3 separate regions of the Homo sapiens genome follow, and all the other regions are linked to region 1. The links are contacts of gene promoters, found by promoter capture Hi-C in human tissues and cell types (Jung and others, 2019). All regions are on one chromosome and are shown on one strand. Each heading gives the region's core, a stretch centred on a gene start or on the middle of the fragment in contact. The rest is flanking DNA. Distances are from core to core; before and after follow the strand shown. Region 1 holds the start of C1orf220 (chromosome 1 putative open reading frame 220). Region 2 overlaps RASAL2 (RAS protein activator like 2). Region 3 overlaps RASAL2 (RAS protein activator like 2).

Region 1 (3,046 bases), core at 226-2,725:
CAAAACAGGCCAGGCGCGGTGGCTCACACCTGTAATCCCAGCACTCTGGGAGGCCAAGGCGGGCAGATCAGGAGCTTGAGACCAGCCTGCCCAACGTGAGAAACCCTGTCTCTACTAAGAATAAAAAATTTAGCCAGGCATGGTGGTGGCACGCCTGTTAATCCCCGCTACTTGGGAGATTGAGGCAGGAGAATCGCTTGAACCTGGGAAGCAGAGGTTGCAGTGAGTCGAGATGGCGCCACTGCACTCCAGCCTGGGCCACAGAGCGAGACTCCGTCTCAAACAAACAAACGACAACAACAAAATGCAAACTCTGGCCAGGCGCGGTGGCTCATGCCTGTAATCCCAGCACGTTGGGAGGCCAAGGTGGGCGTATCACTTGAGGTCAGGAGTTCAAGACCAGCCTGGCGAACATGGTGAAACCCCATCTCTACTAAAAATACAAAAATTAGCCAGGTGTGGTGTCATGCACCTGTAGTCCCAGCTACTCAGAAGGCTGAGGCAGGATAATCGCTTGAACCTGGAAGACAGGTTGCGGTGAGCACAGATCGCGCCACTGCACCCCAACCTGAGCGACAGAACAAGACTTCATAAAAAAAAAAAAAACCCCACGCAGATTGCAGATTCCTGGGCCCCATCTTCGCCTTTCTGAATTGCAGCCTTTCACCCTTTAAGAATGAGAGGGTGAAATCTGCACGTCATACAAATAGCCCAGGGGCTATTAATCTGATGTTGCTCCCCAGCTCCCTCCAACACCGTCAGAGGGTGCACGGATTAGGCCTCTGCTGCGTGCAGAGAAGCATCCTAGGTGCTGCGTGGCTGTGCCAAAGCAGCAGAAACCGGTGGTGTGCCTTAAGATGCATGCTCCAAAGCTGTCCACAAGGCCTCTGGTACAGGCTTCCAGGTCTACGTCTCGGCTTCCCCGACAGTGTCCATGCGACACTGTCACCAGTTTCTCCTCTCACAAGCAGAAAATCAAATTCGGATTGGGCAAATGATTCCCTGCCCGGGTGTGGAATAAGGGTCAAGTCCTAAGTATGGAGAGAGAGCGCCGGCTCCCGCCAGGATATGCGAAGCTCTGGAGGGGAGGCCAAGCCACCAGGCACCCGGCGGGAGAAGAGGAGGCTGGAGAGCGCCGCCCAGTGCCTGCAGGCCGGGCGCTCCACGCCTCCCCTCCCTCCTGCACACCCCATTCCCCTCCGGTTGCCCCGCCTGGGAAGCCCCCTCCCCACACCTCCCGGCCCAGCATCTGCACGAGAGCCGCGAGCCCTGGCCCAGAGCTCTGGGTGGGCCTCTCACCCCAGACGGCGGCCGCAGCCCGTCCCTGATCACCGGCCGCCTGAGCCCTCCGTTCGCTCGGCGCGAGCGCCGCCACCCGTCCTTACCCCCATCCAGTCCGAGGCCAGCCCCGTAGGCTCCGAGCCTGCTCCGTGAAAAGCCTTTTCCCCAGGAGGAGAGTTACTGTAAAGCAAGAGGAAGCCGAGAAGAGGCGGTGGCTGCAGCGCGCGGGGCCCGGCGGGGGCGCGGGGGCGTCGGGGTACTGACTGGGCAGCGCGGTTTCCCCTCATCCCGGGACACGGTGCGGCGCTAGCGCCACCCAGCGGGCGCGGTGGGAATTGCGCTCCCTTCCTGCGCTGGGGCTCTGGACACACAGGCGACCAAGAATGACGCCTGCAGCCGGATAAACGCTCGGGGCAAGGCCGCTATCATCCCTCTGCCGGGAGTGAGTCAAGTCTCAGCAAAAGAAGAAGCCACTTTGGCCAAAATTCCAAGAGTGCTGATGAAGACGGTGACATCTGACATTTCAATGGCACTTTCCATTTCCCCCGGGGTGCGCATTCCGGGCCAGTGGAGCGCTGCGTCGCCTGTGCAGGACCTGGAGGTCTGCAGGACTGTGACCAGTCGGAGTCTCGGAGTCGTGGGTTAAACATTAGTCGGGAGCACTCGTTCATTCCCTGAGCTCCCCTTGCCCTTCACCCTTCGGTCCCGGAAGCCGGAAGGGAGACTGCCCCGCCCCTTGCCTGCCGCCCAGTGGCTCTCCCGGGGCCCTCTTGGCCCCTCTCTCCCAGCCCTCCATACAGTGAAGGGTTGTTTCCGCTGGTGACTTCCACCTGTGGGAGCAGAGAAAGGAAGCGGGGCAGAGGAGAAGGGGAAGGTGTCAGGCGATTCCCCTCCTTGCGCTGCAAGCCGGGTGGGAATAGAACACCTGCAGCCCTCCCCGGCGCCCTGCGAATGAGGTGGGAGTGGGAACGCCATCAGGGCAGAGCCCCTCCAGCTGGCTGGGGTCTGCACCTCCTCGCCAGCCCGGCCACCTCAAAACGGTGCTTGCCTCCCTGCGGGGGTGTAGAAGCCTCTTGGAGCAGCACTTGTAGAAAATCAAGTCCCTGGAAAGAAGCAAAATTAATCCGTTTGTTTCTCTATTTATTTTTGCTTCCCCACACCAGGTATTCACTTCATCCAAGGCTGCCCAATGTCACCTTCCACCCAGAGGAATCTCCCCTCTCCACCCCAGGCCAACAGCCTCTGCCTTCAGCTGTGGCCTCCACTCTGGCATTACTCTGGGCAGAGGGCTCAGGAGGGCTCAAGGAGGACCAGTGACATTCAGAGTGGCCAGAGTAAAGGGAGGGAGGGGGAGTGGTGGGAGAGGCGTGCAGAAGGCACAGGTGAGGTGGCGGAGGGGGGCAGGTGGTGGGGGGAGCGGGCTGGGGTGGGATGGGCCTGTCAGCATAGCAAGGGCTGTGATGGGCTTGAGTCTGACAGGGGGCAATGACCTGACCTACGGTTTTGTAAGATCACTCTGGCTGCCACCTGGAGAGCTGGTGTGGGGATGATGGCCATGGTAGACACAAGGGGAGCAGTTAGGAGACCACCACAAGTGACCATGCGGCCCAGGCGAGTAGGGTAGCAACAGAGATGGGGAGAGGAGGTCAGATTTGTGATCTGTATCTGAAGGTGGAATGGACAGGAATTGCTGATGAGCTTGGGTGTGGTGCATGAGGGAAAGAGAGAAATAAGCATCATTCTTAGGATTTGTCCTGAGCAACTG
Region 2 (3,011 bases), core at 230-2,729, 190 kb after region 1:
TGAGCACCTCTTTAAATGTATACAGCCATTTGGTTATATTCTTTTGTGAAGTGCCTATTAAGTCTCTGCCCATTTTTCTATTGGGCTTTGTCTTTCTCAATTTGTCGGGATGCTTGAAATATTCTGGTATAATTTCTTTGTTGGTTTATATAGCTTGACTTTTTGCACTTTCAGTAGTGTCTTTTGACAAACAGAAGTTATTAATATTAATAAACATTATCACCTTTTTCTTCTTTATAATTGGTGCTTTTTCTATTTGATTTAATAATTACTTCTTTATCCTCAGGTCATGAAGATGCTATAATATATTCTAAAAGTGGTATTATTACTATTTGGTGTTTTACACGTAGGTCTACAATTTAGATGGAATTCATTTTTATGTAAATTGTTAAGAAATAATCCACTTCCACTTTATTTTTCCATATGGATCTCCAGATGAGCCAGGATCATTTATTGAAAAGATCTTAATTTCCCCACCACTCTGCAGTGTCAATTTTATCATAAGTAAAATGTACATATATGCACAGGTCTGTTTTTGGACTCTTTATTCTGTTCCATTGGTCTATTTCTAACACTAATACCACTTTGTCTCAATTAATATAGTTTTATAAAGAGCCTTAATAGCTGACAGAGCAAGTCCTCCTAAATTAGGTTTCTAAAAGAGTTTTTGGCTATCCTAATATATACAAATATATAGATACCTAGAAAGAAAGAGAGAAAGACAGACAGACAGGGTCTTGCTCTGTCACCCAGGCTGGAGTGCAGGGGTGTGATCACAGCTCGCTGCAATCTAGAATTCCTGGCTCAAGTGATCCTCCCTGCTTCAGTCTCCCAAGTAGCTGGGACCACAGGCATGTGCCACCACGCCCAGCTAATTTTCAAATTTTTTGTAGAGATGGGGCTTATCATGTTGCCCAGGCTTCACAAGATTTTTAAAACTGGAATTACATTGAATCTATAAAGGAATTTAGGGTAAAAGTTAACACCATACAAACCAGTTTTCCAACTCCAGAAACGTAGTATATATCTACTTTAGATTATTCTTAAATTTCTCCTAATAAAGCTTTATAGTTTACTTTTTAGATGTTTTACACATCTTTTAAAAGATTTACTCCTAGGTTATTACATTTTGTTATTGTAAACAGTATCTCAAAAAATTTGCTTTCAGTTTATTGTTGATCTATGGAAATGCAATTAGGTTTTGTTTATGGATCTTGTTATCTAGCAACTTGCTAAACTCAATGCCTGTAAAGTTTTTACTGGATTTTCTAAATGATCACATCACTTGTGAAGTTTTAATTTTCTAATCCTTACATATTTTCTTGTATTGATTGAGACCTTACTGTATTGATTACTGTATTGATTGAGACCTCCAATACAATGTGGAATAGCAAGGATAATAATGGACATCCCAGCCTTGGTCCTCATCTAAAAGGGAAAGCTTTTCACCATTACATATATTTGTCGATGGGTTTTTGTAGATATCACTAATCAGAGTAAAGAAATTCTTTTCTATTGTTGTTTTGCTAAGAGTTCTTATGAATAGTTGTTAAATTTTATTAAATGTCATTTTTGCTCAATCGAGATGATTTTAAGATTTTTCTCCTTTAGTTCATTAATGGTAAACTATTCTAACTTTCTAATATTAAATCTACTTTGCATTTTGTGTTATAAACCCAACTTTAGTCATAATGTATTATTCCATTTGCTAATATTTTTTTTAGGATTTCTGGAACTATAATAATGAGTAAAACTCCCTGTAATTGTCCTTTCATGATGTGTCATTGCTAGGTGGTATAAAAGTAGCTGATGTGTGTAGTCTCTTTTACTGAAAAAAATTTGTAATTTGAAAATGTATCTTCCTTCTTCTTTTTTTTTTGGACAGGGTTTCATTTTTGTCACCCAAGCTGGAGTGCAGTGGCACAATCTTGGCTCACCCTGTAGCCTTGACCTCCTGGGCTCCAGTGATCCACCCACCTCAGCCTCCTGAGCAGCTGGGACTACAGGCATGAGCCACCACACCCTTGTATAATTCTCTACCCTCAGGGGCCTGGAATCTGTAATATGATGGGATAGCCACTCCACTGATTAGGTTACATTACATGGCCAAGGTGACGTATAGTCACTATCATGATTACAGTTGTGTTATACTGGATTACATCATAGCCAAAAAATTAGTACTGAAGAGTTGGGCACTGCTATAAAGATACCTTAAAATATGTAAGAAGCTTTGGAATTTGGTAACTGGTAGAAGCTGGAAGAGTGTGGAGGGTTGAGAAGAAGACAGGAAGATGAGGGAAAATTTGGAACTCCCTAGAGACTGGTTAAATGGTTGTGACCAAAATACTGATAGTGATATAAACAGTGAAGTCCAGGCTGAAGAGGTCTCAGATGGAGATGAGGAACTTATTGGGTACTGGAGCAAAGGTCACTTTTGTTATGCATTAGCAAAGAACCTGGTGGCCTTCTGCCCCTGTCCTAGGGATCTACGGAATTTTGAACTTGAGCGTGATGATTTAGTATATCTGGCAGAAGAAATCTCTAAGCATCAAAGTAATCAAGATGTAGCCTGGCTGCTTCTAACAACCTATGCTCATACGCATGAGCAAAGACATGACGTAAAACTGGAACTTATATTTAAAGGGGAAATGGACAGTAAAAGCTTGAAAAATTTGCAGCCTGGCCATGTGGTAGAAGAGAAGAGCCCATTTTCAGGGGAGGAATTCAAGCAGGTTGCAGAAATTTGCATAAGTAAAAAGGTGCCAAGTACTGATAGCCAAGACACTAGGGAAAAGGCCTTGCAGGCATTTCTGAGACCTTGGCAGCAGCCCCTCCCATCACAGGCCTGTAAGCCCAAGAAAACAAAATGGTTCTGTGGGCCAGGCCCAGGGTCTGCTGCCCCATGCAGCCTCAGGACACTGCTCTCTGTGTCCCAGCTGTCTAACTCCAGCCATGGCTCAAAGGGACCCAGGTACAGCTTAGGCTGCTGCTTCAGACAGTACAAGCTGAAA
Region 3 (2,900 bases), core at 96-2,595, 250 kb after region 1:
TACCAGTTAATTTTTAGCTATTTGCACAAAGACTGATATTTTCATCAACATATCTGAGTGTAAACACTTTCAAAAGAAAAATGTTTTAAAACATTTAAAAGTGTCATTTTAAATGCCTTGCTGCCTATACACCAGAATCCAGCCTTAAACATTCTAAATATAGAAAGTAGAGTTTGCATTAAGAAAAATGGAGTCAAATGGACCCTGCCTAATAGACTGTTATTGCCAAAAGAAATAAACTCATAAATTCAGCTTTTGTATTTTTATAATGGCTGTACCTCTGAGGGGTTCATGTTTGTCTTCTCTACCATTTCCCTCAACTCCTTAATCTCAAATTTACTTGGTCTCATCTCTTGCAAGCAAAATGAAAGTCAAATGGCCTCCTGTGCCCTCTTTGAACTGGGCTGGTATCAAGCCAGTTGGGGCCTTTCCTGGTACCCAGGCAAGAAAGTATATTTCATAGCACATAAGCAATATCTATTTGGCACAATTTGCATGAAGCAGTTTACTGAACCAATAAGTCATTTGTCAAGGTGACACTCCCAGCAAGCTTCTCTTTCAGCATTCTGCCCCAATCTACCCTTCTGCCACATTCCCAGATTGGTCATTGGAATATTTAACACTCTTCCCATGTATACTCCTCAAACAGACTTTTCCCCAGTTCTGACAAGAAACATGTAGAGTTAAGAGAAAGCATTAAAAGATGCCACACACTGACTTAATACATGAGTGATACTAGACTAATATAATCCTCCCACATTCCAGCAGTGCCTGGCTAAGGATTCAGTTTAAATCCTTACAGAACCCTTTTAATTAATTTTTTAACACAGCAATAAACACCCCCATGATGATTTAATTAAAGTTTAAAACCATCTTTTTAGATAATTTTAGCAGGAAATTCCTTAAACTCATTTTAAGAAATTCTAAATTATTCAATGCAAAATTCCAAGGATTAAGAGTTAAATTCTTTATAATTCTTTTTTTTTTTTTTTTTTTTTTGAGACAAAGTCTTGCCCAGTCACCCAGGCTGGAGTGCAATGGTGCGATCTCAACTTACTGCAACCTCCACCTCCCGAGTTCAAAGGATTTCTCCTGCCTCAGCCTCCCGAGTAGCTGGGGTTACAGGCACCCGACACCATGTCCAGCTAATTTTTGTATTTTTCGTAGAGACAGGATTTCACCATATTGGTCAGGCTGGTCTCGAACTCCTGACCTCGTGATCCACCTGCCTCGGCCTCCAAAAGTGCTGGGATTCCAGGTGTGAGCCGCCGTGCCCGGCCCACATTCTTTATAATTCTTAAGTGTGGGTGAAAGGTAGAAGGGTGACAGCATATTCTGGTTCCTACACAAGAAATTGATTTATAATCTTTTCATGTAATGAAATTAACAGAAAATCAAACTTATTCAAGTAAAGCAATGTAAAGCAATGGCTTCACATTTTCTTTTCCTAGAGATTTAATTCAATTTTCCCCATATAATAATGGCAGAACATAAACACCTGTCTGAGGGCATTAAACTGTTTTTGTAAACTGTTTTGTAAATTTATCCCTTCATTATTCCTCACCTGGTCTACTGCAGCAATCTTGTAACTCATCTATTTGCTTCTAATCCCTTTCACTTCATTTTCCATATAATCCACAGAGTTACTTCTCTAAGAAGCAAATCTGATGATGTCATTACCTTGCTAAATACCCTTTCCCTGGTCCAGATCATTTCCGGAATAAAATCCAAATTCCTCATCATAGCCTTCAAGGTTCTTCATTACCTAGTTCTTGCTAGCTATCACTTTTCCTCTTGCAAACTATGTTCCATGAACTCTGAATATTTTTCAGTTTGCCAAAGAGACATATGTTTCTTGACTTTGTATCATTATATACACTCAGAATGTCCTTCCCTTCTTTTTCTCCTCATGAGCCCTTATTTGTCCCTTAAGATACAGTCCAAGCATAAATTTCTCTGTAAAACACTTTTTTGGCATTCTCCACTCCATACTATAATCCATCCTAGGCCATATCTCAGTTAATCTCTTATGGTTATATTACAATTAAAAACTAAACTTGGCTGGGTGTGGTGGCTCACACCTATAATCCCAGCACTTTGGGAGGCTGAGGCAGGCGGATCACGAGGTCAGGAGATCGAGACCATCCTGGCTAACACGATGAAACCCTGTCTCTACTAAAAATACAAAAAAATTAGCCGTGCGTGGTGGTGGGCGCCTGTAGTCCCAGCTACTTGGGAGGCTGAGGCAGGAGAATGGCGTGAACCCAGGAGGCGGAGCTTGCAGCGAGCCGAGATCGCACCACCGCACTTCAGCCTGGGTGACATAGCAAGACTCCATCTCAAAAACAAAAAACAAACAAAAAAATAAATAAAAATAAACTTACTGAAGCAAAATTTATATAACATAAAATTTACTATTTTAAAGTGAATAATTCATCAGCATTTAGTACATTCACAACGTTGTGCAACTACCACTGCTGTCTAATTCCAAATGGTTTTAACTTTATTTTACCTCTCAACAAAACTGCATCTTTGTGTCCACAATACTACAAATAATGATAGGTGCTCAATAAATAAAGATGGAATCATGTATTCAACTGTGGAAAAGCACCGCATCAATTATTTTTCTCTTTTTATTAGTTTTAGAAAAATAAAGAATTAAGTTACATGTTCTGGGTAGATATATCATGGAAAGAAAGGATAGAAGATATTTTCTATTCAACTTATATTAAGGAAATAGACATTCAGAAATAAAAGTTTTTAATTTGGCTTTTGCAACATTCATTCAACAAATATTTATTGAGAGTTTCCTATGTTTCATCAGGAACTGTTCTAAGAACTGGTGGATACATCCTTGAACAAAACAAACAAAATCTTTGCTCAAAAGCTTATATTCCAGT

The links. The method cuts DNA at HindIII sites, captures the fragments that hold promoters and counts their contacts. A contact is called where the count stands out against the background at its distance.
Region 2: a fragment that was not itself captured here is called in contact with the fragment with the promoter of C1orf220 in region 1 in 3 of the 25 tissues and cell types used here (IMR-90 fibroblasts, adrenal gland and dorsolateral prefrontal cortex).
Region 3: a contact is called between a fragment that was not itself captured here and the fragment with the promoter of C1orf220 in region 1, in 3 of the 25 tissues and cell types used here (psoas muscle, small bowel and spleen).

The regions. Positions count from the first base shown.
Region 1 is chr1:178,541,225-178,544,270 of GRCh38, reverse strand. It overlaps C1orf220 (chromosome 1 putative open reading frame 220), which reads right to left and starts at 1,475. Exons shown (of 3, transcript NR_033186.1): 1 at 1,386-1,475. It overlaps LOC124904460 (a long non-coding RNA gene), which reads left to right and starts at 1,626. Exons shown (of 2, transcript XR_007066748.1): 1 at 1,626-2,237; 2 at 2,445-3,046. RefSeq lists silencers at 1,241-1,310, 1,341-1,670 and an enhancer at 1,721-1,780. The HindIII fragment of the contact is 22,776 bases long and covers 1-3,046 here.
Region 2 is chr1:178,352,839-178,355,849 of GRCh38, reverse strand. All of the region lies in intron 3 of RASAL2 (RAS protein activator like 2), which reads right to left. Among named protein-coding and RNA genes, the nearest start is that of CLEC20A, 140 kb to the left of the region's middle. The HindIII fragment of the contact is 3,225 bases long and covers 1-3,011 here.
Region 3 is chr1:178,290,135-178,293,034 of GRCh38, reverse strand. The region is part of intron 2 of RASAL2 (RAS protein activator like 2); the gene reads right to left. Among named protein-coding and RNA genes, the nearest start is that of RASAL2, 200 kb to the right of the region's middle. The HindIII fragment of the contact is 3,441 bases long and covers 1-2,900 here.